Regions from separate parts of the Homo sapiens genome. Here regions 2 and 3 are each linked to region 1. The links are contacts of gene promoters, found by promoter capture Hi-C in human tissues and cell types (Jung and others, 2019). All regions are on one chromosome and are shown on one strand. The core of a region is centred on a gene start or on the middle of the fragment in contact, and the rest is flanking DNA. Distances in the headings are between cores, read along the strand shown.

Region 1 (3,305 bases), core at 532-3,031:
CTAAGGAGGCTGAGGCAGGAGAATCACTTGAGCCTGGGAGGTGGAGGTTGCAGTGAGCCGAGATCGTGCCACTACACTCCAGCCTAGTGATAGAGCGACACTCCGTCTCAAAACAAAACAAAAACAACCCCCCTCCCCCCACCAAAAAAAACATATATATAAGAGAGAAGAGAGAGTGAAATTCCTCTTCTGAAACTGGGAAAGTTCCAGGAGGAAGATAAGGTTTGAGCTGGGCTTTGGAAGGAGGAAAGAGAAGAGGAGAAAGAACATTGGATTTGCAGACAGAAAATGGGGTTCCCCTCTTGGCTACTTGGCTTACTAGCCGTGGGAATTCAGACAAGTCACTTAGCTTCTCTAAGTATCAATTACTTCATCTGCAAAACCTCGTGTGTCACTGCCAAAGTGAGGACCAAGTGAGATTAAATAAGTGAAAGTTGTTTGTAAACTGTAAAGCATTATGCAGACATCTTGGACTATTATTAAAAGCTTAAGAATGGGTAGGACTTTGACAACAGGCATTTGGGGAGAAGGGCCTCTGGGCAGAGAGAATGAAAGGCGAAGTGATTGATTGATATGTATGTAGTGACTGATTGAGACAGGGTCTCCCTCCGTTGCCCAGGCTGGGGTGCAGTGTCATGATCATGGCTCATAGCAGCCCTGAACTCCTGGACTCAATCAATCCTCCTGCTTCAGCCTCCACAGTAGGTGGGACCACAGGCACTTGCCACCATGCTGGCCAATTACAAAAATTTTTTTAGAGGTGGATTCTCCTTATGTTGCCCAGACTGGTCTCAAACTCCTAGGCTCAAGCTATCCTCCCACCTGGACCTCCCAAAGTGCTGGAATTACAGGCAGGAGCCACCGCGCCTGGCGAGAAGTGATTTTTGTTAAGAGGCTAGACAAAAGGAAACTGGGCTTTGAAGATGAAATGAATGAATAACTCGCAGCACATGCTTCCTTCTCTCCCTAGATGGCCCCTTTGCAGGCAGTCAGGGACCATGTCTCGTTCATCTTAGTTTCCAGGAGCTTGACACTTTGTAGTTGAGGGCTTTGTGCTCCATTCTCAAGAAACGACAAGTGCCCAAAGGCTATTAAACTTGGGACCTCTTTACCCCCAAAAGTAGTACAGAATAAGAGTTGGGTGGCCTTGAAAAGCACCTTCTTCTGTCCACACTGGGTCGCCCGCTGGGTAACCTCCCAAACCTATGAGAGCTCACCTTATCCCAGGTAAGGTCCTTACTTTAAGGAAGAGGAGGGGGGCCAAGGGCTCCAGCAGACCTGTTCTACACGGGGTAGGGGGGTGGGTGGGAACTATACAGGTGACAACATTTCATAGAACTACACACACACTCACACACACGCACATGACTGCATACCCAACAGGTTAAATCCGAGTGTGGTCTGTAATGAAGTTAATTGTATTGGTTTAGTTAATTGTATTGGTTTAGTTAATTGTATTGTGCGAATGTCAATTTCCTGGCTTTGAGAATGTTGTATCTTAAGAAAAATGTTGAGGTAAGCTGGGTGGGTGATGGTATAGGGAACCTGTATGTATTAATTTTGCAACTTCTTGTGAGTCCATAATTATTTCGAAGTAAAAAGTAAAACAAAAGAAAACAATGGAACTTCCCCCTCAGCCCAGCCTACTTCGAGACCGCCTCACACTCACACATCTGGCCTCACCCAGGTCCAGCCAGCCCTAGGCAGGGGGTGAAGGGAGGGGCAGGGCGGGGCCACGCAAGCGCAGTTCCGCAATCCCGGCCGCTCCGGGAAGTCGCGCATGCGTAGTCTCGGCCCCGGGCTGCCGCGCCAGCCCGTCTCCGCGGCGGGGGACCGGGCTGCCTTGGCCCCTCAGCGCTCGCGTCTTTTCCGGCAGTTGGAACGCTTCCTGTTGTCCTCACCCGTAACCGCCTGTTGCCCCCTGTCTCAGAGTCCCTCACGCGTCCCCTCCCGTCTTTGGCTCGTTGGCTGCCGCCGCCGGGGCTTCGCCAGCCTTCAAGTCGAGACTACTGGCCGAAGGGGCGTCTGCGGCTCTCCGCCGTCCCCAGCCCTGCCTCTCCCTGGGCTCTGGTGAGTTGCTTGCTGCCGCCGTCTTCACTCCATCCCGGGGTTTTTCCTTTATCTCCTCCTTCCCCAACCTCCGACTCCTTCTTGGGCTTTCTCCTGCTCGCCGGCGCCCTCTTTCAAGCCCTAACCTCTCAGCCTCTTGGCCTCTCTCCGCCCCTCTCCTTAACCCCCTTCTTCCCCCGTCTCCAGATGCCCCTTGTTGGCCCTCTCCACATTTTTCCAGTCCCAGCCTTTCCACCCCATCCTTTATCTTTCTCCTTTTGCAGTTGGAGCGGGAGCCAGGCTTTCCTTTCCATGTTGCCACCTTTGTCTGCTCCCTGCCACCAGTCAGTCCCTCAGGGATCTCGGTCATCACCGGTTTTTATCTCCTTTTCCTTCTTCTGGGGTCTGTGAACTGTGGTCTGAGGCAGAGATGTCGAAAGCCCCCCTTGGGGTGTGGTATCTTTGAGTCGGCTCCTTTCTCCGTTAGTCTTAGGATACTGGGCTTCAGATAAGCTTCAAATCACAGGAAAAGGCAGGGAAAATTCTTAAGAAGAGAGTGGAAAAGCAACAGCCAGAGGAAAAAGTCGGTAAGGGCTTAGAGGAAAGTCTGTGTCAGAAAGCGGGCAGAACGGCCGGCAGAGAGACCAGATCTCTCAGTTCATTCTGAAACGACTAAAAGACTCGGAGAGAAACTTGTTCTGTTTGAAATGCACCGAGGAGGGTTGGAGTGAAGTAGACCCTGAGTGTCTCCACCCTTTGAGCTCACCCTGCCTCTGAATTAGCCAGGCAATATATTTGGTTTCCCTAAACATAAAACAACCACCACCTCGATAACAGGCTCTCCTCCCCACCCTAAACGTTAGATACCAGCTTCCTCCTAAGAGGAGAGAACGCTATAGCAAACCATTTCATGTCCCAGCCCTATCCCCCATCACACATAAACTCCTAGGAATGGACATCAAAAATGAGTATATTTCCTAGTTAATCTTTCTTAAGGTGCTAAGTGCATAGCACTGTGCATGAAATGGGGGAAGAATATTAAAACAAGTATAAGACATGGTGCTTGCTTTCTAGTGTAGGTAGAGATTACAGTTTAGTAGGATTTACAGTTCAGTGGGAGAGATTAGACATGCGACTTAAGCAATAATCTTAGCTCCAATGTTGAATCGTCCAAATGAAAGATAATGGATTGTCAGTCGCAAAGAAATAAAGTCCATATTGTTGAGAGAGGGTTGTTTATAGTGATCACAGAGTAC
Region 2 (3,305 bases), core at 269-2,768, 350 kb after region 1:
ATACTTCCCCATCATACTTTTTTTCAGCATCTCAGGATATCTTTGTTAATGCTTCACTATTGTCATTAGTTTATCAGGCCAAGAAACCTCTCAGGGGTCAGACGCAGTACCCACTGGATTAATAACGTGGATGATAAGGAAAAAAATAGGCCTTGATTGATTGTTAAATTATTTTTAATAGAATATTCCTTCCTTAGATACTTGACTAAAAGAATTCTGAAACCACAGTTGGGAGGAATGTTTGAGGTTGGAATCATTGTGATACTTTTTTTTTTTTTTTTTTTTTTTTTGAGACGGAGTCTTGCTCTGTCGCCCAGGCTGGAGTGCAGTGGCGGGATCTCGGCTCACTGCAAGCTCCGCCTCCCGGGTTCAAGCCATTCTCCTGCCTCAGCCTCCCAAGTAGCTGGGACTACAGGCGCCCGCCACTACGCCCAGCTAATTTTTTGTATTTTTAGTAGAGACGGGGTTTCACCGTTTTAGCCGGGATGGTCTCGATCTCCTGACCTCGTGATCCGCCCGCCTCGGCCTCCCAAAGTGCTGGGATTACAGGCGTGAGCCACCGCGCCCGGCCGATACTTTTACACTAATTAAAATGGTTTAAGAATGTAAAGTTTGCTTGGAAAATGGGAAAAGTTTAGCTAGGTTAACAACAGGTCTTAAATAGAGTAACATACCACACTCTCTAGATTTAATTCCATTTATGTATTTCTAAAACGTATTCATTGACCACTTAGAGTGTGTCTAATACTGCACAAGTTCTTTGGAAAATAATGACAAAATCTCAACCTAGAAAGGGACTAATGATCATAAGTATAGATAGAATATATTTTTTCTTGCCTTGAGTAGTGTGCAATCCAGAATGGTAGAAATAAGTAGAAAACACATACAAGAAAAAATAGATAAGGCAGTGAAGAGTATGGAGCCACCATTATTCAAAGAAGGCTTCTTGGAGAATGGGAGACTTCTTTAAGCCAAGTTCTAAATCATGATGGATGTGAACTGGTGAAAAGAGTGTAAAGTGACATTGGGTTGGTGACAGGACAGTCCAGGCAAAGGGAAAATATGCAGGGAATAATGCGGAAATTATCCTAGCTGGTATGTATGGGCAGATGATAAGAAAAAGATTGAATTGGGTAGGAGGTATGGCAAGGGGACAGGGATAATAAAAATAATACCTAACACTTATGTACAAGGTACTGTGCTTAGTGCTTTATATACTCCATTTATTAAAGATCTTTGTTGCAGTTAGCAGAAAACCAACTTAAGTGAGTTTAATAAAGGAAATAAACTCTCATAACCAGAAAGTCCAGGGGTGCATCTAGCTATAGACAAGATCGAGTCAAAGGACTCGAATTATGTCATCAGCATACTGTATCTTGCAATTTCTCAGCCATCCTGAGCCAATAACTGTGGCCAGAGGGACATGCTGCTTGTCATGTATCAACTCCTAAAACCAGAGGACATGAGCAGGAGAAGATTGTACAATGGGGTAGTAGGTACATGTACAAACTAGGTCCAATATGCACACCATATCTTATTTATCAACTTACTAACTCTATAAAATGTTACTGTTATCCTCTTTATGTATTGGAGAAAGTAGAACAGGAGATCCGGTAAACCTGGAAGAGTTTACTATAGGTAATTAGGCATTATGAAAATAAAAAGGCATTAAGCAGAATGATGGAAAATGTGTTAGAGAAAGAGGAAAAGGAAAGGTCAAATCAGAAATCAGATGACAAAGCAACTGTTTTGTCTGATTGGACATAAGAACAAAGGAGAAGATTGAAGAAGAATCTAAGTTCAAACTTTGTAGGTTCTCACAGTTTGGTACAATCATTGCAAATTAAGAGGTGGCAAAGGGTTGCTCGGGAGCTCCTATTGGAGGTGGGAACCTGAGGATTGAAGAAATGATGAAATCAGCTCAAGTTCTCTGGAACCTCTTTTGGTCACACTGAAATACATATTTATTCAATTACTATTTGTGAGCTGCTGGTAAGGTTCTATTTTATGGCTGTAAAGGCCACAAAGGTGAAAAGAGTATGCTTGCAGACTTGAAGGCATTTAGATTCTAATCACAGTATAAAGCAAGGGTATTTATAACTGGAACGTGCTACAATATAAGCACTTCAAGAGAGATGCAAACGAAGTGCCAAAGTTTGGAGGAGGGAGTGAGCTCGTCTGTTTAGGAGAAGAGGGAAGGCTCTGTGAAGAAAGTGCTATCTGAGCTCTACCTGAAAGCTCTCAGGTAGGTGTGTCAGCTAGAAAGATGGTAGAGGGAGTGTGGTCCAGGCTGAGCCACCCGCATGAGCAAAGAGGAAGAACGTATCAAAGAATAAAATTTCAACAAATGAGTCCCAAAGATCCAATTGGCTTTATTAGCTGTTTATGAACTGGGCAACATCCAGTCTACAAAATAGAAAGGAGTTCCTATGAGCTAAACAAGTAGGTGAGTTTTATAGGCAGAAAGAAGTGAAATAAATCAGGAACAATGAGCAAATAGCAGATTGGTCTTTTCAAGATTATTTTTCTTTATAGGAATGTAAATGAAATCTTGTTGGTTTAATGGGATTTGACTATCATCTCTCTCCTGATTTCTTGAAGAGTCAGATCTTACAGTAAAATACAGGTTTTGGTTTGGTGTCATGGAACCTCTCAGCATGAATGACTCCATTTGGGGTCTGCTGTCTTTTCTTTAACACATGGAATGCCATAAGATTGTTTCAGGAAACAGTGGGTTACCCATTGACCCAAAAATGAGGGATATGAGAGAGAAGGCTGGTAAGGTAAAGTCAGAGCATGGAGACTGTTGGTTGGGTAGGGAGCTAGACATGAAGGGGCAGGAGACCCTGATGATTTTTGGAACAGGGAAATGACTTCAATAGTTCCATGCTTTAAGTTCTAGTCAGGCAAGAGAGTGTGATACGGTATGGTTTAAATTAGCTATCCAGTGTGGCTTGCATTATCTTCTGAACTTGAATTCTAGCTAGAACATTTTACCATATACTCAGTGGAATGCTAAACCAAGCAAGCATGAAAGCAAGTAGTATGTGACAAGTATAAATTGTTCAACTTGATCTAATGTCTTATCTTTTCAACCTTTAATTAGGATTTCTATTAAATCCTAAACTCTTAACTGTGAGTGAAGCCAGGACACTATAAAATATAATTCCATATTTTAGCAGAAGTACCAACCCTAAAAGTAGCCATCTTCTTGGCATAATTTTACTAAAGGGAGAGAAAATACACAAAAATAATAGCACATACTAAACTAGAACCTGCATTTTGACAAGATTTCCATAAGTAAT
Region 3 (3,305 bases), core at 231-2,730, 270 kb before region 1:
ATGCATTTGTCAGATGAGGCCTGAACTTGATGTCCAAAACTCTGGGTTTTCATACCAGCTCTGATATTTACTAACTGTATGACCTAGGTGAGTTATTTATCTTCTCAAGTCTCAGCTTACTAATCGATAAAAAGGGGCTAAGAGACCTTTGTGGGTAGACTAACTAAGGTAATGCTTATGAAAATGCCTGGAAATATTAACCGCAATCTACCATTGACCTGGGCACTCCATCACAGTGGGAGAGGCCGCCCTTGGAGATCCTGTGAACCAAGCCAAACTTGGTGGCACTGGAGCTGAGTCTTGAGTGGTGCCATGCATCATTCTGGGGGGCAGGGTGTTGCAGGTGGAGGGAACAGCAAGTGCAAAGGCCCTGAGGTGGGAACAAGCTTACTGTATTTCAAGGACAAAAAGAAGGCTGGTGTAGTTTGAGTGGTGTGAACAATTAAGAAAGTGGACAATACGGTCACAGAGGTCATCAGGTTCAGATCCTGTAGGGCTTCAGAGGCCATATAAAGAGTTCTGATACTGATCTAAGTGTGATGCTAAGCTACTTGAGGGTTTTATTTTGTTTTGTTTGAGATGGAGTCTTGCTCCATTGCCCAGGCTGGAGTGCAATGGCTCGATCTCAGCTCACTGAAACCTCTGCCTCCCGGGTTCAAGTGATTCTCCTGCCTCACCCTCCCAAGTAGCTGGGACTACAGGCATGCGCCACCATGCCTGGCTAATTTTTGTATTTTTAGTAGAGGCAGAGTTTCACCATGTTGAGCAGGCTGGTCTTGAACTCCTGACCTCAGGTGATCCTCCCTCCTAAACCTCCCAAAATGCTGGGATTACAGGCGTGGGCCACCACACCTGGCCTATTTAAGGGTTTTAAGCAGGGGAGTGATGCAACCTGGTTTATGTTTCAGAAAGACAGCCCTGGCCACTGTGTGCAGAGTGGACTGCAGGGGAAAGGGCAGAAGCAGGAAGATAATTTGCAGTCTTGTGGAGGTTTTGGAATAAGACTGTGGTGGGCATGAACACAGGGGATCCAGTTCGTTCAATGCCAAGAGTTTAAATCTGAAAAGAAATAACCCTCTGCCTGCCTGGCCTTGAGCCCAATTTAGGATCCCTGGTGACCTGGCCTTGGTCATTCCACATAGACCATTATCTAAAGATACAAAGGAATGAGTGGACCATCAGCATTGCTAAGGCACAAAGCGGAAGGCAGGCCTCTCTAAGAGGTGGACTCCAAGGCAAGCTTGGGGTAGGCTTTCTGGACTCTCTCCTTTTTGCAGAGAAGTCTGCCTCTGCAAAGAGAGGTCCCTCCTGAGCCTTAGGTCACTTGGAAAGCCTTTAGTGGCCTTTGCTCTTGTCATGCAGCTGAATTTTCAGGGCTCTGACTCCCCGTGATCAGGGTTAGGCAGTCCAGGACCAAAGCTTTACTTTAGGGACTAGATGGGTCTATGGCCACCTACTCACAGTCTTAGGGTCAGGGCTTTAAAACCTGCTTTGACACAGTGAGGTGCTGTCTGGGATGTCCCTTTGAATCCTGACTTTGCCACTTTCCTTAACCTCTCTCTGAGCCTTAGTTTTTTTCATCAATAAAATGGGTTCCCAATGCCTGCTTAGTGGACTGTGGTAGGGACCACATGGCAGAATCACTTAGCAGTGCCTGCCTGTGCTCAGGACCTGTAAATATTCTTTTTATTATTAAACAGTACCATCAGGCAAGCTGTAAAGAGGCTCTATCCCTTTCCTTCCCCTCCTTAAATAAGAGGGTGACTGATATGCCTTCTACCCTGTACAGTCTCCACATCAGCAGCACCCCATTATCTCCCTTGGCCCTCACCACACCCAGATGAGGAAGCAGAGCTCAGAGGGATCCTGGCTTTGCCCAGCAACACAGCTAGGAAGTGGCAGAGCTGGGATGTGAATGTGGTTTTCCGAGTCGGAGTCCCTGGTCTTCTCCTCTGCCCAGGCCACTGACTTTCAAAGTGGGCTTTTCTTGTTTGTTTGTTTTTGAGACGGAGTCTCACTCTGTCGCCCAGGCTGGAGTGTGGTGACACAATCTCGGCTCACTGCAACCTCCACCTCCTGGGTCCAAGCAATTCTCCTGCCTCAGCCTCCCGAGTAACTAGGATTACAGGCATATGCCACCACCCCCAGCTAATTTTTGTATTTTTCGTAGAGATGGGGTTTCACCATGTTGGCCAGGCTGGTCTCAAATTCCTGAGCTCAGGAGATCCGCCCACCTCGGCCTCCCAAAGTGCTGGGATTACAGTCATGAGCCACTGCGCCCAGCCCAAAGTGTGCTTTTCTATCCCCAGGATTTGAGGGTGGCAGCTCCAGGATCCACCGTGAATATGTGTGTAGCCCCTGCCTCCCTTTCCTCCTTCAAGCAGAGGTGTTCATTATTTCTGTGTAATACATTAGACATGAGCCTGAGATTTCATTTGAAGAAAGGAGTTGGCTTTTCTAATAAACCCTGAGTTCTAGGCCAGGTCCCCTGGTGGCTGATAGATCTATTTGCTTTTCAGTGTTAGTGTCCAGGTGCACTCTACAGTTGTGGCTGAGCTGTTGAAAGTGTGCACTCCAAAGTCAAGTTTAAAAATGGGCCCACCACCTGCCCAGGTGGGGGATCTTGGCCAAGCACTTAGGCTCACAAGCCTACTGTGAGGAGTAAATAAGCTAATTCGTGTAAAGTGCCTGGCCTGCAGAAAAAGCTCAATAATGGCTCTTCTTATAAGAAGCCCTAAGTAAGAAACCAATGCTTTATCTGGAGGAAGGAACCATTGACAGTATCATTTCAGACATCGTGATGCCATTTGGCAGGAGCTATCGATGTTTTGGAGTGAGCTGGGGGACAAGTCCCAGGGCCCCCTCCATGATGCTTGGCTTCCTTTAGGGTGGGGACTGCTCAGGCCCCCCACCCTCTACAGTCAGACCCGGGGCTAGAAGGCTGGGGGTGGGGACAAGGTGGTGGAGAGTGTTTTGTTGGCAGCTTGGCAGCCAGGCTCATTGGTAAAGGGTCGTTCCCCGTTCCCCGAGGAGCTGGGATGATTGAACAGATTATCTGAAACAATGGCTAATTAGGAACTAAGCTTTTTGGCAGGAAGTCTTTCATTCTAAGCTTGGTAAAGTTTCATACCCTGACCCTGGTCTCTGGGCGAGATAGGGAGGCTTCTCTGACCAGGCTTGAGAACAGGGAGGCCTTTAGAGCCTGGGCTTCCCTAACTCAGGGCCCCTGTCTCCACCTCTGCCCTGCCTTACCTGGAAGCCTTAACAAAACAGGCAGCCATTTGGGAGGTCACCAGGCCTACGAA

What was found. Contacts are between HindIII fragments. The study calls those that stand out against the background at their distance.
Region 2: a fragment that was not itself captured here is called in contact with the fragment with the promoter of STK38 in region 1 in 1 of the 25 tissues and cell types used here (IMR-90 fibroblasts).
Region 3: a contact is called between a fragment that was not itself captured here and the fragment with the promoter of STK38 in region 1, in 1 of the 25 tissues and cell types used here (mesenchymal stem cells).

What each region holds. Positions count from the first base shown.
Region 1 is chr6:36,545,955-36,549,259 of GRCh38, reverse strand. It overlaps STK38 (serine/threonine kinase 38), which reads left to right and starts at 1,781. Exons shown (of 14, transcript NM_007271.4): 1 at 1,781-2,070. RefSeq lists a silencer at 1,636-1,975 and an enhancer at 1,723-2,246. The HindIII fragment of the contact is 5,084 bases long and covers 1-3,305 here.
Region 2 is chr6:36,191,041-36,194,345 of GRCh38, reverse strand. All of the region lies in intron 1 of BRPF3-AS1 (BRPF3 antisense RNA 1), which reads left to right. Among named protein-coding and RNA genes, the nearest start is that of BRPF3, 4.1 kb to the left of the region's middle. The HindIII fragment of the contact is 4,910 bases long and covers 1-3,305 here.
Region 3 is chr6:36,810,802-36,814,106 of GRCh38, reverse strand. The region is part of intron 3 of CPNE5 (copine 5); the gene reads left to right. Among named protein-coding and RNA genes, the nearest start is that of CPNE5, 27 kb to the left of the region's middle. RefSeq lists a silencer at 2,915-3,083. The HindIII fragment of the contact is 3,236 bases long and covers 1-3,098 here.